4 separate regions of the Homo sapiens genome follow, and regions 2, 3 and 4 are each linked to region 1. The links are contacts of gene promoters, found by promoter capture Hi-C in blood cells and fetal thymus (Javierre and others, 2016). All regions are on one chromosome and are shown on one strand. Each heading gives the region's core, a stretch centred on a gene start or on the middle of the fragment in contact. The rest is flanking DNA. Distances are from core to core; before and after follow the strand shown. Region 1 holds the start of TRIM23 (tripartite motif containing 23). Region 2 holds the start of ANKRA2 (ankyrin repeat family A member 2). Region 3 overlaps MCCC2 (methylcrotonyl-CoA carboxylase subunit 2). Region 4 holds the start of BDP1 (BDP1 general transcription factor IIIB subunit).

The links. The method cuts DNA at HindIII sites, captures the fragments that hold promoters and counts their contacts. A CHiCAGO score of 5 or more calls a contact.
Region 2: the fragment with the promoter of ANKRA2 here is called in contact with the fragment with the promoter of TRIM23 in region 1 in 1 of 17 cell types (total CD4 T cells); the score reaches 5.3 in total CD4 T cells.
Region 3: a contact is called between a fragment that was not itself captured here and the fragment with the promoter of TRIM23 in region 1, in 2 of 17 cell types (naive CD8 T cells and non-activated CD4 T cells). The highest score is 5.8, in naive CD8 T cells.
Region 4: a contact is called between the fragment with the promoter of BDP1 here and the fragment with the promoter of TRIM23 in region 1, in 2 of 17 cell types (total CD4 T cells and non-activated CD4 T cells). The highest score is 14.5, in total CD4 T cells.

The regions. Positions count from the first base shown.
Region 1 is chr5:65,622,300-65,627,888 of GRCh38, forward strand. TRIM23 (tripartite motif containing 23) reads right to left here and starts at 2,034. Exons shown (of 11, transcript NM_001656.4): 1 at 1,895-2,034. The coding sequence starts at 1,975. TRAPPC13 (trafficking protein particle complex subunit 13) reads left to right here and starts at 2,728. Exons shown (of 13, transcript NM_024941.4): 1 at 2,728-2,807. The coding sequence starts at 2,762. SHLD3 (shieldin complex subunit 3) reads left to right here and starts at 2,728. Exons shown (of 2, transcript NM_001365341.2): 1 at 2,728-2,807. RefSeq lists enhancers at 1,704-2,033, 2,164-2,243. The HindIII fragment of the contact is 4,327 bases long and covers 1-3,783 here.
Region 2 is chr5:73,562,431-73,568,019 of GRCh38, forward strand. ANKRA2 (ankyrin repeat family A member 2) reads right to left here and starts at 3,209. Exons shown (of 9, transcript NM_023039.5): 1 at 2,702-3,209; 2 at 163-555. The coding sequence starts at 451. UTP15 (UTP15 small subunit processome component) reads left to right here and starts at 3,313. Exons shown (of 13, transcript NM_032175.4): 1 at 3,313-3,482; 2 at 4,832-5,004. The coding sequence starts at 4,915. RefSeq lists enhancers at 2,469-3,023, 2,603-2,652, 2,673-2,882, 2,893-3,452, 3,024-3,578. The HindIII fragment of the contact is 2,502 bases long and covers 1,123-3,624 here.
Region 3 is chr5:71,589,913-71,595,501 of GRCh38, forward strand. MCCC2 (methylcrotonyl-CoA carboxylase subunit 2) reads left to right here. Exons shown (of 17, transcript NM_022132.5): 2 at 3,014-3,080. Among named protein-coding and RNA genes, the nearest start is that of MCCC2, 5.4 kb to the left of the region's middle. The HindIII fragment of the contact is 540 bases long and covers 2,627-3,166 here.
Region 4 is chr5:71,452,371-71,457,959 of GRCh38, forward strand. It overlaps BDP1 (BDP1 general transcription factor IIIB subunit), which reads left to right and starts at 3,281. Exons shown (of 39, transcript NM_018429.3): 1 at 3,281-3,719. The coding sequence starts at 3,508. RefSeq lists enhancers at 2,216-3,142, 3,143-4,068. The HindIII fragment of the contact is 8,261 bases long and covers 1-5,589 here.

The DNA of each region.
Region 1 (5,589 bases), core at 784-3,283:
GGATTAACAGGCCCACACCACAATGCCTGGCTACGTTTTGTATTATTAGTAGAGACGGGGTTTCGCCATGTTGGCCAGGCTAGTCTCAAACTCCTGACCTCAAGTGATCCGCCCACTTTGGCCTCCCAAAGTGCTTCCCAGGCACTTTGTGCTTTACAGGCGTGTGCCACCGCGCCTAGCCACAATATCAGATTTTTATGTTACTGTTTTCTCTAATGATAAAAGCCATGTCATTATCAACTTGTTCACAAGCAAAAGGCCATTTTACACAGTATTAGCATTATATACTTCAACTTTTACCTTCCAATAAATACTTCTTGCTTTCATCTATAGAAATGACAGTGAGATTTTTTTAGTTTATGCTACTATACCTACTACAAATTATGGCATGAAGATTTTGTCAGAAAGGACTATTTCATTGCACAGTTCAGGAATATTTTACATGTTAAGATGAAAATGAACAAGGTGAGCCTCCAATGTATCAAATTCTGTGCTGTAAGAAACTGGAGTTACATCAGGCTTTGGTACACTTTTGAGACTGTAAGGCAAACAGGGTAACAAAAAAATAGATACTGCAATGATACCCATTCCAATTATGAAATAAAACTTAAACTTCAAGTTAATTCACAAACTGCTCTTCAAGTATTCTCTACTTAGCAAAAGCACAATTCAATAAATAAAATCTCAGTCACACAACATGCCTAATAATGAGGGCTCCTTTGCATATCAGATATGCCGTGTACCTGTAGAATAACTTCATTAGTACCTAAAGGTCATCTGAATCAACAACCACCAATATTCACTGATACTAAATTGTGGGAAGAAATGTCTCATTTGCTGTCATATAAAACCAACATTACCTGAATAATCATAGGTGTCTACTTTTCAAGATGTGAAAAAAACTTCATATATTACCTTGATCAGTAATTCATAACCCTGGTTGCACATTAAAATAACTTCTGGTAATTCCTAAAATATACTGATGTCAACCTCATCAGAACTGGAGGAGGAGTGCATCAGTAGTGTACTAAAACTCCTCAGTGATCCTAATATGTAGCCAGGAATGAGAATTATCAATCTCTTAGATTAGAGATGCTCCTGAAGGTTACTCTATAAACCAATGGGATCAGTTCTCCCCTCCATATCTTTCCGTGCACAACAGTGGAAGGGAAAAATGAGTGCCACATATTTCAAATGATTTTTTAGCAAATTGATTCTGGAGCATGTATACATGGTAGAATCTCAAACTTCAAGCATAAGAAAATTCATAAACTCTATCGTTAATGCCCAGCTATGACGATGCTGCAGACTTGTGCAAAGAGTTAATAGACTGTACTACTAACAGGGGAGGGGGCAGCTCACCCAATAACAGATGTCTGATTACAGACGCAGTACAAGAGCGAAAAGTACAGACTTTAAAGCCGGTCAACCCGGGGCTCTGCCACACACTGTTTACCTAAACCTGGGTTTCCTCCCTGTAAAATGGGAATTCACATCTACTTCATAAGTAGATATTAACGAGCTAAAACACCTAACTTAGTACGTAGTTACGATGATGATGACTCAATTTATAATACTAAGCTAATTAATGTCTGTTGAGTTTAACTAAAAGCAGAGGACCTGGAGAAAAGACCGGTCTAGGTCACTGCCACTGGCCCGCAAGCTCCTTTTCACAAATGTCCCGATGATGACATGTCATGAGCAGAAGACCAGGCAATTTCAGGCCATAGGAGAGAAAGGATGCAGAGGACAGGACGAGACTTGTAATGCCAAAAGGGGCCCAGAGGCCGCGCATCCCACCTATCGAAGCCTGGGCCGCGGCGATGCCGCCAGGTCTCCAGGATGAACCGAAGGGAGGCCGATGGTGGAGAATAGAGCACGCAAGGTCCCTCACCTTCACTACAGCTGTCCCCCGGCTGCCCTGCCGGCCACTGTCTACTCCCGCTCCGAGCTTGTTTACAACCAGGGTAGCCATCCTCGCAGGGGAAGCGCCACAGAAACAGCCTTCAGAGTCCTCAACTGAGAGGCGGGGTTGAGCCACCTACCCAGAGGCCTCTGCGCACGCCACCGGCGCACAGGCGCAGTAGGACACTGGGCGCCGCTTAGCCGACTCTTACTCCTCCTCCCCGCAATCGTCGGGTGGTTAGTTGCACAGCCTCGCGCATGGGCACTTTTGTTATTTTTCATTATGTAGTCTGCAGCTGCTGGAGGAAAGACAAGAAAAAAAAAGAAGGGACAAAACGATTAAAGTTTTGGGGTGAAAACTCCAGATCCTTTAATGATTTTTCCTCTCGAATCCAAACCAGCCAGGGCGTGAACTGAGGGCGGTGAGGGGGTACGGGCATCTCCCTGCATGCAACGCGGTTTTTGTATAAACTACAAATCCCAGCATGCCACTCTCTCTCTCTCTCTTTTTTTTTTTTTTTTTTTTTTTTAAAAAAAAAACTCCGGCAACGTTGGCCTTTGGGAGGCCGCGTATTGTTACCTAGGGGTGGTTTCTTTTCCTGCAGTCGCGATGTGTGATTGCAGATGGAAAACAAAGTATTTTATGCCTACGTTTCTAAGATAGAAGAAATGGACTTGTTGAAAAGAAGCCAGTTTGTAAAGGACACAGTAGGAGAATTTAAGGTACCACCACCAGAGAGAGGTTGAGAGTGCGTTTGACTTTTGGTTTTGCCAAACGCGAGGTTTTCCGTTTCCTTCCGGGGCAAGTTGAACCTGTCCAGCCCCCGTAGGCTGTGGGTCAAAAGTGCCGGTCAAAATGGAAGTGAATCCCCCTAAACAGGAGCACCTGCTGGCGCTAAAAGGTAAACTTTTGCGAACCTGATTCCCCCTTTTCTGTTTCCTTGCATTCCCTACTTATCGAAGCCTTTGCCATGTAGGCCTCATCCTTCTTAAACACTCAGTGCTCGCCCTCCTGCTCTGTCCTTTGCCGCCAAGCGGGAGGAAGCGATTTCTCCTGGATGCTTTTTAGGTTTATGGGCCCCTTTCTAGAACGAAATAGATACCTGGTAAATCGTTCTTTCTGATCTGTGCTGCTTCAGTCACGAGATTTTAGCCGCAGAAGCTGACGTCCCGCTCCTACCGTGGAGATCTCTGTGAATTACAGCGGGCATCCAAAGTGCTTTTTCCTTCTGTCTCTTGTTTCTTCCTGTGGCACTGACGAAGTTAATCAGGCTTCAGCTTCCCCTGTAAAATTAGTATTGCATGACAGTAGTGCAGAGAATTTAGCAATACATAGTAATACAACATATAACTTAGATTTATTCAAAACAAACTGCAGTTTACTTCAAATCACTGTGTATGTGGGAAATATGTCCGAGATCTAATGTCAACTCTCATTTTTTGTACACAGCCATTTTGAGTAAGTTTGGTGATTTAATTAGATCATTATTTAGGAAAAAACAGCAGCACTTTTTTTTTTAGGACAATTTTTTTAATGCCTATTTTCTGGAAACCTTTTATTTGAAATCTTTTCAGCTTTATTTTATTTGTTTTTTACTACAACAAATGCGCTTTTTGTTTCTTGGATGCCTTAATATATGGTTAACAATGACTTCTTGAATGAGCTGAGGAAATGCTCAATAAACATTCGGGTTCAATTGAATTGCGCTTACTTTACTTATGGCATCCATTTTGAGGAACGCCTTATCCTTCCCATTATGATGTAGTCATCAGACTTTCTAGAAGCTCATCAGTCTCATATAATGATGCCTGTGTTAGCGAGATTGTCTCTTACTGTGGAACTTTGTAATGTTTAGTGATACAGTGATGGGACCTGTAAGCTTAACCTGAGCAAATGATCTAGACTAAAATGGAGATTAAAATGGATTGTTACTCGTGGAGAAGAGGGAAAAGAAGAAAAGCAACTAATTGTCGTGTTCTTTATCTCACAATCTCACTTCAAGTATGTGGAGTAAATATTAATTCTCAGAGTTTAAGTAACTTTTCCAAGATCACATAGCTAGTGATTGAGGCAGTGTTTCAACGCAAGGCCTGCCTCTCTTTCCAAGAGTCCGTGTTGCCTCCTAAAGAATGAAGCAGCATTCTCAGAGATAATTCCTCTACCAGCTACTCCGATGGGAATTTGGAACAGTTCTATTAACTGCTACGTGTGATTTATACAAATTAGAAGCTATTAAAAACAGTTAAATTGCAGCCGCGCGTGGTGGCTCACCCCTGTAATCCCAGCAGTTTGGGAGGCCAAGGCGGGTGATCACAAGGTCAAGAGATCAAGACCATCCTGGCTAACATAGTGAAACCCCGTCTCTATAAAAATACAAAAAGTTAGCCAGGCGTGGTGGCGGGCGCCTGTAGTCCCAGTTACTCAGGAGGCTGAGGCAGGAGAATGGCGTGAACCCGGGAGGCGGAGCTTGCAGTGATCCGAGATCACGCCACTGCACGCCATCCTAGGCAACAGAGCGAGACTCCATCTCAAAAAACAAACAAACAAAAAGTTAAATTCCAGTGATACAGAGACTGCCACTGGGAATTTTTAGTTTTCTGTTATTCTTTTTTTTCCAAAACCAAGGATACCTAAGAAAGAATATTTAAGCAGCCTAAGCCAGGCGTGGTGGCTCACGCCTGTAATAGCACTTTGGGAGGCCGAGGCTGGCAGATCACTTGAGATCAGGAGTTGACACCAGCCTGGCCAACATGGCGAAAACCCGTCTATACCAAAAATACAAAAATTAGCCAGGTGTGGTGGTGTAATCCCAGCTACTCGGGAGACTGAGGCAGGAGAACCGCTTGAACCTGGGAGGCAGAGGCTGCAGTGAGCTGAGATTGCGCCACTGCACTCCAGCCTGGGTGACAGAGTGAGACCCTGTCTCAAAAAAAAAAAAAAAAAAAAAAAAAAGAACAATAAGCAGCCTAAACGGACAAGTGCTTCAAAATTGACTGATAGTTTCAACTTTATTAAACCTCTTTAGTACCATCTTATAGTTAACCCATTGTTCTAGTTAATCAACAATTTTCACACATTTCAATGTGCTGATGCTGAATGCCAAATGTATTAATTTAAGTGGTCATTTAAGTTCACTTTATCTTTTAATATGTAAAATGTTAAAGATAATATCTTGTTATTCTTGGTTGGGTGAGGTGGCTGATCACTTGAGATCAGGAGTTCGAGACCAGCCTAGCCAACATTATGAAACCCCGTCTCTACTGAAAATACAAAAATTAGCCAGGCGTGATGGTGTGCACCAGTGGTCCCAGCTACTCAGGAGGCTGAGGCACAAGAATCACTTGACCCTGGGAGGCGAAGGTTGCTGTAAGCCGAGATTGTGCCACTGCACTCTAACCTGGGCAACAAAGACTCTGTCTCAAAAAAAAAAAAAAAGTCATCCCTTGAGTATAACACTGATTGACTTTAGACAACAAGAGAATTTCTCAGTGCCATATTTTACAATGTGAAAGTATAAGGAACAGGGAAGAAAAACATTAGTGCATCATTAGTTCTTGAAAGTATATATGATAACATTTAGATCCATATTTAAAATATGGATGTTAAAGATCACAATTATTTATGAATTTGAGAGTTGTCAGATCTGTTAGTGGGCAGTATCAGTAGGTAAAAATAATGAAATT
Region 2 (5,589 bases), core at 1,959-4,458, 7.9 Mb after region 1:
ATCTGAAATTATTTTAATTTTGGTTTCTATGAGATTCCAGAAAATCATATTAAAAAATGACTTCTAAACTGTCTTCCCAAACTCAAAATCTCATGATTGGGAAAATAACCCAAATATACAAAAACAAAAACAAATGCAGATATTTATACCATAACTTTCAACCTTTAAATAGGACAGATGCCACCTCCAGGTCAGAGTTAACCTGATCTTGAATATTTTTACTATCTTCTTCATTTAAGGACTTCACAAATCGAGAACACACATTCATATCAAATCGGTTAGGCAATATGAATTTCATTCCCATGGCAACACCCTGAGCTGACCCTTCTTCTGAATTTGGGTCCAGTGGATGTTCTATTTTAATGTCTGGCATGCCAGTTAGGCTATAAGTGCTGGGACACTCTTCCACGATAAGCTGGGCTCCAATATCCAGATTTGTTGATGTATCCATGATTTCAACTGTAGTTTCAATAACTAAAACATTTCTTCATGATTTCCTCTTGGTTTTGTAAGAGCAGTATCCAGTGTGTTCTTGGAATCTGGATATTTAAAAATCTGAAAGAAAAAATTAGAAAATTAAAAGTATTCTATCAGCTTAGGTAAAAACACACAAAATAATCATTTTCAATCAAGTATTGTAACAATGCTCTTGAAAGCACCTACACATAATAGAAAGAATATAATGTTCAGAGGTAGAGAAACCTGGGTATGAATCCAAACTTTGCCATTAATTAGCTGTGTGACCTGTAGAAGTTACTCAATCCCTCTGAGCTTCCGTGTCATTTATAAAATAGGGATATCACCATTAACCTTATAGGGTTCTGGTAAAGACCAAATGAAATACTGTACAGTGATATTCTCACCTCCATCATTAAATTCCAATACATTTTAGTTACTGTTTCTCCCATTTCCTATATCTGAATATCACCAAATGGATAAAAGATCAGGCTAACAATGAAAATAAACTTTAATCTCTTACCTAAGGTTAGTTCTTTAATATGCTATGTTTATATAGGTGGCCCTTAGTTTGAATTTAAGAAATGATAATTCATGTTGTATCCAAGTTTATTGGCATTGTCATCTATAACACCTGTGATTCCTAGACCATGAAAGGCTTTACAAAGCTTTGGTTTTGATGAACTGAAGGTACATTTATGAATTTTTGTTCCGATTAAGCATTAGCAACTTAATGTAGGTTTTCATGAAAAATAAAGTAGGTAGATTATGGATTGGCTTTCCAAGATGTATAGTTGTCTTAGATACATTATCATTTGGGACAGAAAGGAAATTAATAACATCCAGTTAATTTTTTCATGTTAGGGTTAATTGCCTCTTAGGAATTTTGAGAGGGTGCAGGGTGTTTCAAAATTGGAATTGGAATTAAAAGAAAAATGCATTAGGATCGCAGTGGAGCAAGGGTCGCGAAACCATACATTTACAGATAACCACCTTCTACAATTTTAAAAACATTTTCAAAGATTAGTCTTTATAACAATCCTTTGAGTAGGCAGGTCAGGTAATCATATGTCCACCTAGGAGGGGTAAAAAAGGAAGCTCATGAATTATGAGGGCTTACTCAGCTCTTCTGACTCCATCACTCTGACCATTAAAATGAGGCAGCCCTAAACAAAGCCAAAATCTCCACGAGAGAGTTGAATAAATAACACATAGTATAGTAAGGAAAAAAAAAAAAAGCAGGAAGTAAGAAGGTTAATACATTTGGGCAAAAAGAAGGAAACCAGAAAAGAAAATTAGTTCAGTGATTCAAAGGGAGATGGATGTGCAATGCATTAGTCCATGCGTCTTAAAAGGGACTGGACAATGTGAACTGTGTTTCCTGAGGGAAGAACCATCTCCCCCTTTCTCCTATCCAGCGGTTGGCTAAGTGCAACTCCCCTAAGCTCTCTGAGCACCCTGCATGTATCTGTATTTTAGCATTCACCATCCTTTTGACAATTTCCATTTAAATAACAGCTAAATTGAAAACTCCCCTAGGATGGGGACCACTCTTACTAATTTTTGCACACAGAACAGTACTTGGTCCTACCAGGTGCTCCATAAATGTTTTCTGATCTTAACTTTAACAATTTTTTCCATATTCTTTTCTATTTCTAACATTTGCTGATTAGACCTGGCTTTCCACTCCCAACATCGCTACTAACTAGCTGGCCACTCCTGGACAAATAAATAATACAAGTTTTCTGAAATTCATCTATTATAAAAAGGTGTTGAAATAGGCCTTTCTAATATTCTTTCCAGCTCTAAACAGCTTCCATGTTACAAATCAGGGTTTATAGATGGAATTACAGGTCTTCGAGAGGAGAATAGCAAATGTGCTTAGGCGAAGGGGGTGGGTGGAAAATGAACGCTTATCTTGGCACAGCAGTTTAACGAGAGGAGAAGCAAAGTTGATTGGTAGGCCAAAATTTTGAAGAACAGGAGAGGGAGGCGGGGGTGAGGGGAGTGGGGTAACAGGACTTAGAAGAGGTGGTGGTGAGAAAAAGGGGGTAAGGCAATCGATAGCTAGGTTCACCTCGATCTGTCAGAGCCCAGGGATGAAGGGATAGAGAGTCTACGGAGATAAAGTGGGCAGCTATGCTAGTTCCTGTGGATGCTAATAACAGGAGCCCCTCGTTTCTTCCTGATCCTGGAATTATTCTACAAGGAGAGGAAGGTGCTATGAAAATAAATGATGCCTCACAGGCGACAGGTGTCCCAGCGTCCCGAGACAGGAGCCCGCTGTCTCCCGCTGGAGGGGAGACTCTTGCAGGAAAGAAAGTCCGTTCTGTCGCCACCGGCCAGCTGTGCCCGAAAAGTCCCAGGAAGAAACTCTCGCTCATCCGCGGCGAGCGGATCCCGGGCACAGGGGCTGGAGGCCGACCCGGTGAGAGTGCAAGGTCTCGCGACCACCGACGACAGCAGACAGCGAGTCGGGCCTTCCCATCTGAGGCCAGCTTCAGTACAGGCCTCCAAGCCCGGGCTTGTTTTGGCCGCGACGTCACTTCCGATTTCTTCTTTCGCCTTCTGGCTAAAAAACGTTCCGCAGCAATGCAGCTGAAACTTTCGGGTTTTCTTTTTTTTGTCCCTCTCTCCTTTTTTTTAATATTTTTGTTTTTGCCGCCTTTACGCTCCGAGGCCCATCCTGCCGGAGTACTACACAGACAGGGTCATTTCAGTTGACGGTTCTGGGTCACCAGAGCAGAGGAAGCCCCAATTTCGCCCTCCGGTCACACCTCCTACTCCAGATCGCCCCGCCCACCTGACCCGCCTCTGCGCCGCCGGGCTGCGTGAGTCTCATGAGCGTGCTCTGGTACGTCATCTTCGCGCGACGTTCGGTTCGCTGTGTGTGTCGCCGGCTCCTTGAGGGTCCATGTGATTTTTACGCCAGTGCTGCTGAACTGTGCAGGGTAGGGAGCTGGCACAGTCCGATTAATTGTCCTTGGGTCGAGGTGTCTCGTCGGACCCTTTGGGGCTCAGTGGAGGTAGGTGAAGGCGGCTCCCATTGAGGGAAGCCCACACTCACACCCGGCCTTCCTGTGTTAATCTGGCATGCTCTTCTGGGGCTTCCCAGGCTATATAGGAGAGTGGCCAAATTCTTTAACCGGCTCAAGTTCCCCTCAATTAAGCTTCGACCTAGGTTCTTCTCTGCGATTACACCCTTTCCTGTCCACCGTTGTTAGTTCCCGGAGTAATCAGCAACTCTCCAAGGCAATGGACACATTTCCATCTTTGCCTTTGCTTACGAGGCTCCCTCAGGTGAAGTGAACCTAATGGAGTTTTAAAATATTTGGGAGATAAAATCAGCAGATCTTGTTAACTATTTGGATGTTAGGAGTGAGGAAGAAAAGGACACGTCAAGGCTGAGTCTAGGTTAATATCTGGTGCCAGTCACCAGCCAAAATGGAGTATATTGGAGTAAGCAAAGGCACAGACCATGTCTTTATTTCATTCACCATTATAGCCCCAGTGCCTAGAGCAGTGTCCTGCACATTGGTAGGTACTTTAATGAACAGAAGAGTGTTCCCAAAGACCAGTGAAATACAATCATTGGTCATTGTATTTCATTAAAGCACCTTTTAAATATATGTTACACCTATTTATCGTGGTGTTACTAATGTAAAGTTTTCAGGCTTTTTGGAATAGATGATGAGCAGCACCTCTGGAATCATTTACCTGATAACATTGAATCTCTTTTGCAATTGAGTCGTTCTGGAAAAATGTTTTGGCTTGATTGCATGTTATTTAAAAGTTTTATCCTATTCTGCCACTTTAGTGTTGAATTTAATTTCAGGACTGCTTTATTACAGTTTTCTTTCCTACTGTTTAAACCTTTTAAAGTAAATTTAATTTTAAGCTTCTACATTAGAATATTAGCTTTGTGTTTCTTACTTCTTGGCATTTTTAGGCTTTCAGGAAATCAAATCCGTAACTATAATTGTTATAGATTAAATGTCATCTTAAACTTGGTTTCAGGAAACTTGTATTTGCAGTTTCACCTTAATATTTCCTGTTGCCAAAAAATGGACACTCAAAGCCAGCATGATCCTTTTTGGTTTGGCTACTGTAAGGCTGTGCTAGATTTATTCCTAAGTGTTGTAAAATGGTTGGCTAGGTGTGAGAACCTTTGTGTACAGCTGAATAGATGGTGCGATATGATAGCCTTCACTTTAATTATTCCTGCTTCCTATAGATTGCCTTTTCTGGGTTAGAATTAAATGGCTTATTGGTCTCTAATCTATATACTTCCACACAGACTTTTTAAAGAAAGCAGAGTGAAAATCAACTATGTGTACAAGCTTATAATATGTATATAAAATATTTTATTTTTCAGAATTAAGGCAGAGTCACTGTAATTATTTCTAATACCAATTCCAAAATAGTGACTCTTGGACAATAGTGCAATTATATGGAATTATGGCTGGTTATAAGCCTGTAGCTATTCAGACATATCCTATACTTGGTGAAAAAATCACCCAAGATACACTGTACTGGAACAACTATAAGGTGAGTGTGGGACGTAATGAGGGAGAAGGGATTTGTGTTTATGCCAATTTCTCTAGCATATGTTATACTCTGGATGCTCTAACAGAGAATTATTAACTGAAAACCATCTATCAGCAGCTTATAGTTTGGGCAGATAATTTGATATCTATTTTTTCTTGGAATTTTATGTAAAAGTCCATACTGCTTAATCAGATTAACCATACAAATGCCTAGCACAGAACAGATGATCAATCAATGCCAAATGAATTAAATTTTAAAATTTGAATCTCATATGTGTAAAGATGTTTATTGAAGTATTGCTTGTAATAGTAGAAATCTTGAAAAACCCATGTCTATTAGTAGTGGACTGGTATAGTAAATTACAGTGTGCCCTTATAATGGATGGTAAGTCTATTGCTCCTATGAAAGCTAATATGTGTTACTAAGTGAAAAGAAGCAAGATGTGGAACAGCCTACATGGTATGATTATCTTTTTGTTATTTTAAAAGTACAAGTACGTGGTTATTGTATGCTGGTGTAGACATGATAACTTTTTTTTTCTGGTAGAAATCACAGTAAACTCAATAGCTGAAGAGACAGAGTGGG
Region 3 (5,589 bases), core at 1,647-4,146, 6.0 Mb after region 1:
GTCTTAACTGTTGCTCTATAATGCTTCTCACTCACCCAGCTCTACCTAGGTGGGTTCTATGGTTGAAAAGATGGGGTGGGAAACTTGTCAGTGGCTCAGCTCCAATTCATTATGACTGTCAGGCACTAACCTCTGTGGTTGCTCAGCTTCACAAGAAAATTACTAGGTTGTAGAATGTTGTTTCGCAGGTGATTAAAACACACACACACACACACACAAACACAAACACCTGGCGTCCTGAGAGATCAAGATTTGCCAAATGCAGTATCAGTAAGTAGGGAAACTGAAAGTTGAACTTGGTTTTGCCACTAAACTACACTGCCTCTTGGTTAGTGAGTCTCATCCTAAGGAGGCTAGGTTGGTTGATAAAGGATTGCCTGGGAGGTGAACTGTAGCCAGTACTGGCTCTTCTGTGATTTAAGTCTGATGGGCTGAGCTTGGCACAGATGTTGCCCAGTCTGTAGAGGCAAATGTCAGCTTCAGTGGGTCAGTGCTTTTCTTCTTTGACCCACTGGTTGCTTAAAAGTACGTTGTTTAATTTCCATATATTTGTGAATTTTCCAGTCATCCTTCTGCCATTGATTTCTAGTTTCATTCCATTGTGATTGAAAGGATACTTTTGGGCCAGGCATGGTGGCTCAGGCCTGTAATCCTAGCGCTTTGGGAGGCCGAGGCTGGTGGATCACCTGAGGTCAGGAGTTCTAGACCAGCCTGGCCAACATGGTGAAACCCTGTCTCCACTAAAAATAAAAAAATTACCTGGGCATGGTGGCGCACGCCTGTAATCCCAGCTACTTGGGAGTGTGAGGCAGGAGAGTCGCTTGAACCCGGGAGGCGGAGGTTGCAGTGAGCTGAGACTGTGCTACTGCACTCCAGCCTGGGCGACACGGCCAGACTCCGTCTCAAAAAAAAAAAAAAGGATACTTTGTATGATTTCAGTCTTTTAAAATTTATTAAGATTTGTTTTGTGGCCTGACATGTAGTCTATCTTGGAGAATGTTGCCTGTGCACTTGAGAAAAGTTACATACTTTTTTCTGCTGTTGTAGGGTGACAAGTTCTGTATATTGTGTTAGCTCCAACTGGTTCTTTCCCTAATACCATGCTGCTTCCTTGTTTTTTATTTTCTGGATTTTGCAGAGCAAGAGAATGTAGCAGAAATCATGACCCTCAGAGCTCTTGGAGCTGTAGAAAATAGGAAATAATGGAGATATACTGTAGACTGAATATTCATCTAAGTTTGAACAGTTAGGAAGTTGCTTAGTGTTCTGTCAAACAGAAGGAACTAAATAACTAGAGATGCTAATCACATGGGGAGCAAAATGTATTAGTGGGCCAAGTCTGAATTTCAAAGATAATTAGCTAGTTAAGTATTGTTCTAAAGTAATATGCTGACCAAACAAAATTTAAAAATACAGAAGGGTGAAAAGTTAGTCCCTCTACCTCTTTTCTACTTCTCACTGTCAATATTTCCTTGTGTATTACTTAATTTGTGTATATATGCCAGCATAGAGTTTTGTTCTGTTTTTTTTTTTTTTTTTTTGAGATGGAGTTTTGCTCTTGTTGCCCAGGCTGGAGTGCAATGATGCAATCTTGGCTCACTGCAACCTCCGCCTCCCGGGTTCGAGGGATTCTCCTGCCTCAGCCTCCCGAGTAGCTGGGATTACAGGCAAGCACCACCTTGCCTGGCTAATTTTGTATTTTTTAGTAGAGACGAGTTTTCTCCATGTTGGTCAGGCTGGTCTCGAACTCCCGACCGTAGGTGATCTGCCCGCCTCGGCCTCCCAAAGTGCTGAGATTACAGGCGTGAGCCACCACGGCTGGCCGAGTTTTGTTCTTTTTACTAATTTATTTATTTATTTGAAACAGTCTTGCTCTGTCACCCAGGCTGGAGTACAATGGCACGATCCTAGTTCACTGCAGCTTCAAACTCCTGGGCTCAAGAGATCCTTCCACCTTAGTTGGTCAAGTCGCTGGGACACACCACCATGCCCAGATAATTTTTAAATTTTTATTCTTTTTATTTTTATTCTTTTTGTAAAGATGGAAGTCTCCCTATGTTACTCAGGCTGGTCTCAAACTCCTGGGCTTAAGCGATGCTCCTGCCTCCGCCTTCCAAAGCTCTGGGATAACAGACATAAGCCACCACACTCAGCCTGTTCTTTTTAAAACATAAAATAGGATCCTTGGCCAGGTGCGGTGGCTCATGCCTGTAATCCCAGCACTTTGGGAGGCCGAGATGGGCAAATCACTTGAGGTAAGGAGTTTGAGATCAGCCTGGCCAACATGGCGAAACCCGGTCTCTATTAAAAATACAATAATTAGCTGGGCATGGTGGCACACACCTGTAGTCCCAGCTACTTAGGAGGCTGAGGCAGGAGAATCGCTTGATCTCGGGAGGCGGAGGTTGCAGTGAGCCGAGATTGCACCATTGCACTCCAGCCGGGGCAACAAAGGGAGACTCTGTCCCAAAAAATAAAAATACAAAATTAAAAATAAAAATAAGATCCTTTTTCTCCCTCTGGGATTTGTTTTTAAGTGTACTTTGTCAGTAAGCAAGCATTGGTTGGAATCTCAGATAGTGACTGATGGGACAGGAAAAATAAGATGGTATTCTAACCTTCAAAAAGCTTATATTCCTTAAAATAGGAAAACAAATAGAGATCAGTTTAAGTTCAGAAGGTGTTTAAGGAAGAAAGATGTTAAATTGAGTAGGAGTGGCCAGAAGTAGAGTTGAAGATGAGATAAAACATGAATTAGGCTTACAGAGGAGTAAGATATGGAGAGATGGACAAGTGGGGTGGTGAAGAAGAGCTTGAACAAGACAGGCAGGGGTGAATCTTTTCCATACGATCCAGTGGCCCAGCGTGGCTGCCACAGATGGGGTGGCCCAGTGTGGCGGCCACACAGAGTTGGCACAGACCACTGTTTTTTTTTTTTTTTTGACCTTTATTTTGGTAAAAAGGAATTGCTTTCTAATATTTCTCTCCCCTGTCTCCTCTATTTCTGTTTTAGGAGAACTACAAGCAGATGAAAGCACTAGTAAATCAGCTCCATGAACGAGTGGAGCATATAAAACTAGGTAAACACAGCATTTATTCCACAGCTTATGCCTTTACTTAAGATGTCCTAAAATAGTTATTGCTTTTAGGAAAAATACTGGAATTAAGCTTTTGATATTTTTTTTTTTTTTTTGAGATGGAGTCTTGCTCTCTTGCCCAGGCTGGAGTGCAGTGGCGCCATCTCAGCTCACTGCAACCTCCGCCTCCTGGGTTCAAGCCATTCTCCTGCCTCAGCCTCCCAAGTTGTTGGGATTACAGGTGCCTGCCTCCATGCCTGTCTAATTTTTGTATTTTTTAAATAGAGACAAGGTTTCACCATGTTGGCCAGGCTGGTCTTGAACTACTGATGTCAAGTGATCCATCTGCCTTGGCCTCCCAAAGTGCTGCAATTATAGGCGTGAGCCACTACTCCTGGCTGAGCTTTTGACTCTTAAGACTATGCATTTGTTGGTATGCAGGCATTTAATTTTATTTTTCCTATTACTTGGCCAGTTTTTCTCTTCATAGAGTACTACCACTTTTGGGGGGAAAAGTAAAGATTCAAATTCATAAATTTTATGAATAAATAATTTATTTTTAATTTTTATTAATTTTTTTTTTAAGAGATGGGTTCTTGCTCTATTGCCAGGCTGGACTGAACCCCTGGCTCAAGCGATCCTCTCATCTTGGCCTCCCAAAGTGCTGGGATTACAGGTATGAGCCACCACACCTGGCCAGTGATTTCTTAGTAGGCATTTAATATTTCCTCCCTAAGTGCTGAATCTCAGATGGAAAGCATTCTTCATATTTGATAGACTGTTTCAGATAACTTTTATCAACAAGTATATAATACTTAAAATTGTATATAATACTTTTAATGTAAAATTTTACATTTAGGTTAGAGTAGTTTAAATACTGGATCTCAGGAGTATAAAAATAGTGAAGAAGACTGGATTTGGAAAGTATGGTCTAGAATTGCTTATTTACTAGTTTATTTAGAGACAGGGTCTCCTCACTCTGTTGCTCGGGCTGGACTCGAAGTCGGGAGCTCAAGTGATCTTCTTGCCTCAGCCTCCCAAGTAGCTGAGACTGTACCTGTGCCCCTGTACGCAGCTATGGAATTCATACTTTTGAAGCCATTTTAGATCAAGGTGTTGTCTCCAGAAAAAGAATTCAAACTCTTGCTGAAATGAAAGTGTTTTGTTAGGGGTGATAACTCAATTGTTATGCCCATTTTGAGAGTTTGATTTGGTGAACTCACTGTCCCCCTTAGACATTAAGATGGTGGGTTTTGGGGCCAGGCACAGTGGCTCACGCCTGTAATCCCAGCACTTTGGGAGGCCGAGGTGGGCGGATCACATGAAGTCAGGAGTTCGAGACCAGACTGAGCAACATGGTGAAACCCTGTCTCTACTAAAAATACAAAATTAGCTGGGTGTGGTGGCGCATGCTTGTAATCCCACCTACTCGGGAGGCTGAGGCAGGAGAATTGTTTGAACCTGGGAGGCGGAGGTTGCAGTGAGCCAAGATGGTGCCATTGCACTCTAGCCTGGGTAACAGAGCGAAATTCCGTCTCAAAAAAAAAAAAAAAAGAGGTGGGTTTGACTCAATGGAGGGTTGAGGAGTCCTGTGGCATCAGGTGCCTGCTGGGGATGGTGGATGCTGAGGAACCGTGGTGCAGGCTGGTGGCCACAGGAGGGTAGAGGACTGAGCCGGACTCCCTGGGGAAGGAGGTAGGGAGAAGGGGGAAAGGACAAACTTGGCTGTCACAGCTTTGCCAAGAATTAAATGTCAGGGGAGCTTAATTATGTGCTCTGTGAGCCTGCATCAAGGATAACCCTCTTTCTGGTTCTTCCTAATAAAACCAGAATTCACCAGCTGCTCCAAATTGTAAGGCCCCACTCTAGACAGAATTGCTAAAGAGTGATGTTGTCTTAAGTCTCTCTCTTTTTTTTTTTTTTTACTGAGACGGAGTCTTGCTCTGTCACTCAGGCTGGGGTGTAGTGGCGCGATCTCAGTTCACTACAACCTTGGCCCCCCGGGTTCAAGCGATTCTCCCGCCTCAGCCTCCCGAATAGCTGGGACTACAGGCATGCACCACCACACCCAGCTAATTTTTCATATTTTTAGTAGAGATGGGGTTTCACCATGTTGTCCAGGCTGGTCTCAAACTCCTGGCCTCAAGTGATCCACCCACCTCAGCCTCCCAAAGTGCTGGGATTACAGGCATGACCCACCTGTCACTTTGGGAGGTCAAGGCAGGAGAATTGCATGAAGCCAGGTGTTTGAAACCAGCCTGGGCAACAGAGTGAGACCTCATCACAAAAATTTAGCTGGAGTGGTGGCACATGCCTGTAGTCCCAGCTGCTGGGAAGCCTGAGGTGAGAGGATCACTTGAATTTAGGAGTTCAAGGCTGTAGTGAGCCATGCTGGCACCACTGCACTCCAGCCTGGGTGACAGAGTAAGATCTTGTCTCAAAAAAAAAAAAAAAAAAGGTCCTACTTGGAAGATCGTTTGAGATTATTTTCTTGCCTAAATAAACAAAGAAA
Region 4 (5,589 bases), core at 2,031-4,530, 5.8 Mb after region 1:
CTTTATAGAGATAAGGTCATCTAAAGAGGGAATGGGGTGGGATTGGAAGGTAAGTGGTAGAGTTTTTTTGTTTGTTTTGTTTTGTTTTTTAGACGGAGTCTCCCTATGTCGTCCAGGCTGGAGTGCAGTGGTGCGATCTCAGCTCACTGCAAGCTCTGCCTCCTGGGTTCACGCCATTCTCCTGCCTCAGCCTCCCAAGTAGCTGGGACTACAGGTACCCGCCACCACGCCCAGCTAGTTTTTTGTATTTTTTTTCGTAGAGATGAGGTTTCACCGTGTTAGCCAGGATGGTCTCGATCTCCTGACTTCATGATCCGCCTGTCTCGGCCTCCCAAAGTGCTGGGATTACTGGCGCAAGCCACCGCGCCCGGCCGGTGAGTAGCAGAGTTGTTTTTGTACGTGCTCTCAATTTAATCTAATTGAACATTTTTCTTTGCAGCTGAAATTTTGCAGTTCTTAAGTTGTAGGGCTACACATGATATACCCCATGTACACAAAATGTGTTGTGTGTGTCTCTCAGAGAAAAGTAGAGATTTAAAAAATTCGTATGATGCCACTAAGAATTTACTCCACAAACTTGTGTAACAAATGTCTTATGACTTTATATTTAATAATAAAATTTAATCTGATTCTGTTCCCATCCCTTTACTGGTGGGAAATTAAATCTTAGTCACTATTTACTTTCTGACCTGTAAAAACTTGGGACAATGCCCTAGTCTCTTAAGTGGAACAGAAGACCATCTGGGGAAAGGCCCTGTGTCTTCAGTTGGTATCAGAATATGCTGTTCAAAGCTGTGTAGACCTGGCAGTGGCTCCAAGATTCCTGAGACATCTTTAGCAGGGTATTCTCTCGAATTCTTGAGCTTCTTTAAATAAAGAAGATAAAACTGAGATACTGTTCCTTTTCCAGAGTATTGCAGGGAGCCCACGGAATCCACAGACCTCCTCTTTTCTCTTCCTTCCTTCCTTCCTTTCTTTCTCTCTCTCTTTTTTTTTTTTTTTTTGAGACAGGGTCTCACTTTGTCACCCAGGCTGTAGTGCTGTGGTGTGATCTTGGCTCACTGCAACTTCCGCCTCCTGGGCTCAAGCAATCCTCCAACCTCAGCCTCCTGAGTAGCTGGGATTACAGGCAGAAGCCACCATGCTCAGCTAATTTTTGTAATTTTGGTAGAGATGAGGTTTCACCATGTTGGCTAGGCTGGTCTTAAACTCCTAGGCTCAAGTGATTCGCCTGCCTCAACCTCCCAAAGTGCTGGGATTACAGGCACGAGCTGTGCCTGGCCTCCAGACCTTCATTTTCTTCATAGTCTTAGAGATATATGTTTTCTCTTCTCTGCTTTCAGTCTTGCCTTCCTACTCTCAAAAGCACTTGCCTCTTTTTTGTTCTCCCTTTAGGTGATCAATTTCTTCAGTCAGTTCAGAATTTTATTCCTTTGACCTTTTGTTATTAATGTATCACCATATTCTTGTAGGATTTTCTTTTCCTTCTAAGAAGAAAGTCAGGCCTTTGTGTTCCCATGAGTCAGGGGATTTGTATCACTGGTTCAAACATTGGCCCAATACCTCCAAGGCCAACCTCAGCTCTGGCTATTTTTCCTCTCATCATAGAGGACTTCCCTAGCCACTCTACTGCCAGCCTCCCTCCCATTACTTTCTATCACATCATCCTGTACATTTCTCTCTTTTTTTTCTTCTTATTATTAAATTTTTGTTTTAAGGACAAGGTTTCACTTTGTCACCCATGCTGGAGGGCAGTGGCACTATCATAGCTCACTGCAGCCTGGACCTCCTGCCTCAGCCTTCCAGGTAGCTGGAGCTAGAGGTGGGAGCCATCACAGCCACCGCATGTAGGTAATTTGTTTTAGGGGTCTCAATATTTTGAGCAGGTTGGTCTGGAAGTCTTGGGCTCAAGAGATCCTCCCACTTCAGTCTCCACAGTAGCTGGGATTATAGGCGTGCCTCGCCATACCCGGCATTCAACCCTTAAATTTATTTCATGACATTTGATATACTTTATTTTATTGCAATTAATTAATTAATTCATTTATTTTAAGACAGAGTCTCACTCATTCTGTTGCCTAGGCTAGAGTGCAGTGGTGCCATCTTGGCTCCCGGCAGCCTCCACCTCCAGGGTTCAAGCCATTCTCCTGTCTCAGCCTCCCATAGCTGGGATTACAGGCTTGCACCACCAGGCCTGGCTCATTTTTGTATTTTTAGTAGAGATGGAGTTTAACCATGTTGGCCAGGCTGGTCTCGAACTCCTGACCTCAAGCAATCTGCCTTGCCTTAGCCTCCTAAAATGCTGGGATTACAGGCATGAGGCACCCACGCCGGGCCTGATACATTTTAAAAATATCTTGTTCATTTCTTTTTTGTATTTTCTCCTCCCAAATCCAGAACGTCTTGTTTACTGCTACCTCCTGAAGCAGATTAAGAACACTCACAATAATTTACAAGGTTTCAACTATAATAATTTTTAAACAGGCTGGAGTGTAGTGGTACGATCTCGGGTGATACATTCATATTAAAAAGTACACAAGGAGGTTGGGCGTGGTGGCTCACGTCTGTAATCCCAGCACTTTGGGAGGCCAAATGGGTGGCTCGCTTGAGCCTAGGAGTTCAAGATCAGCCTAAGCAACATGATGAACCCCGTCTCTACTAAATATACGAGAAAAAAAAAATTAGCCGGGTGTCGTGGCGCGTGCCTGTGGTCCCAGCAACTTGGGAGGCTGTGACGGGAGGATCGCCTGAGCCCGAGAGGTGGAGGCTGCAGTGAGCCAAGATCGCGCAACTGCACACTCCAGCCTAGGCGACAGAGCAAGACCCTGTCTCAAAGGACAAAAACAAAAAAGTACACAAAGGCGTACGGTAAATGGTCTTCCTACCACGACGTGTTTTCCAGAAACACATTCCTCTCCTGGGAGGTAACTATTATCAGTTTCTTCACACCAGCATTTTTAATCTATGTCTACTCAATTTAGAATTTCTAAACCCTTCAGGATCTTCAAAAGACAAAATCGGCCAGCGATTTTAATAGTTCCAGTAAAGGTTTGAGCAGAGAAGTGGACTTTCTTCTGTTCCTCTTTTCAACTACTCCTAAGGACTCCTGGAGAAGAAAGAGCAAATATCTCTGCATCTCAATTTCTGGTCCGCAGGTAACCCAGTCTCAGTAGCTTGGTAGTTACCATGGCTCCCAGTGCTGTGCGTCTGACGTCATTCTGCGGCGCTGGCTGATGGCGCAATCAGTTGCGGCGTCCTGTGAGCGCGGGGATGCTGGGAGGAGGGTGAAATTTAGCCATCGGTGTGTGGCAGGGTCATGAAAAAGCGGCGGCGGCGGGAGAGAGGAGGAGGCGGCGGCGGGGCAGTGAAACTACGGTAGCTGCCCCCTGAGCTGGTGGTGTGGCTTTGTGGGGAGGGCGTAGTTCCTAATCCCCTTTCCGGGCAGCCGCCGGGGCTCGGGGCTGTGAGCGGCCGTGAGGCTGCCTCCCCGGGCCCCCTGCCTCCGCCATGTTCCGCAGGGCACGCCTTAGCGTGAAGCCGAATGTCAGGCCTGGTGTAGGCGCCAGGGGCTCCACAGCTTCCAATCCCCAGCGTGGACGGGAGTCTCCCAGGCCGCCGGATCCTGCCACGGACTCTGCTTCCAAGCCCGCGGAGCCCACAGATGTGCCCACAGTCGATTTCGGTGGAGCGGAGCCCCAAGAAAAGGCTCCTAGGAGCAGGTAAGAGGTTGCAGAGGGAAGAATTTTCATTTGTCCCGCCTCTCCGGGCATGTCACCTGGAAGCTGAGCAAATGAATTTTATCACAGGAGTCCGCTCTCGTTTGCAGTAAGCCTTTCAGTTGAGGCTTGATGAAACCACTCCAAACTGCAGTTTAGTTGTCTGACCTGCAGGGTGTGGCTTGTGTGGATTTTGTCACGGTCTATAGATTCTCCGAGAGGAGACCATGTCTTCAAGTGGTGGTAGGGAGAATCGGGGTATGGCAGTCCTGAAGTGAAGAATATCCACACTATTCATTTGAGAATTTAGGTCACTATAGTTTTCATCCTTCTGGAGTGCTTTGCAGGGAAGTGTTTTTGTCTTTCAATTTATAAAATATTTATTTTTTAAAGGAGAAGATAAGTATTGCTTTGGCTTTACCGATTTATGTCAGTGAGTAAGAGTTCTGGTCACTTAATTGAAGTGTGCCTCTTTAACTATGGTGACCGTGTTTCCTGAATAGAGAAGCATGGCTTTAGCGTCATGTATCATATTTGGATTCAGGACTCTTTTAGTCTACAGGTAAACTTTTCTCAGGCAGAATTTGCTCATCTGCAAAATGGGAATAATATTGCCTACTTGGAGCGTTTTGGTGCAGATTGGAGATAATTCATATTAACTACCTTGCAGGGGATATAGCAGAATAGTTGCCCGCAAAAAGTTACTAGTTTTTTAGAAAGGTGATGGAGTAAATTTAAGACATGTTAGGCTAAGATGGTCTCTGTTTCTATATATATGAGGAAATCAGTAAACAGCCTTGTTAAGTGAAGTGAGATAGTACAAATTCTGTTTATGCTGTGATAGGAAGGTGAAACATTTATTTATTTTTGGAACATCTTCCTCTATTGGCCTGAACTGGTGCTGAGTGTATGGTGTTACGTTGATAGTTCAGTGATGGTTAGTAATTTCCAAGTTTATTACATGAATCTGTTTCAAAATTTCTACACAGAAAGGAGATACCGATACTAGTCGCTGTTACATTAATAAAGTTCTCAGAGATTTCGTTAATTATGTGTGAGTGCGTGATGGTTGATAATTTAATAAATTGCCCAAAGATTGTAGTTTTGAGATATTTATGGTCAAGGATATTTAATTTTTTTTTTTGAGTTGACATTTACGTTTGGGGAATATAATTTGTTTTTTAGTCACTTTTTTTGCCATTACTGACTCTGGGAAAGTGGTTTTTTTTTTTTTTTTTAATTAGTTTTTTTTTTAGATGGAGTCTTGCTCTGTCGCCCAGGCTGAAGTGCAGTGGTACGGCTCACTGCAACCTCCACCTCCCGGGTTCTTGCAATTCTCCTGTCTCAGGCTCCCAAGTATCTGGGACTACAGGCGTGCCCCACCACGCCCAACTAATTTTTGTATTTTCAGTAGAGACAGGGTTTCACCATGTTGGCCAGGCTGGACTCGAACTCCTGACCTCAAGTGATCCACCTGCCTCAGCCCAAAGTGCTGGGGTTACAGGTGTGAGCCACCGTGCCCAGCCTCTTTTTATTTTTTTGTGGGTCTTTGCTAGTTGTAAAACTCTATAGGATATATATTCTGTCATTATGCATTCAACATAATTGGGTGAAATGCAGATAATGCATGTATCCATAACAGCTAAGATACGAATTTAAATTGAAGTCTTCCTGGAAAGGTTATTCTATAAGTTAAGGCATTTTCTAATTTTTTATAAGTAATTATAAAATAGGAAAAAAGTAGACTGTTTTTAATTATTGACTTATACCACCTCTTTTCTTGACTTAAGTTGCATTTATAGACCATTCCTGAAATACTTATATCTGAGGTATACCATACCTAATATGCAATTTGGGGTGACTGAGTACTTTT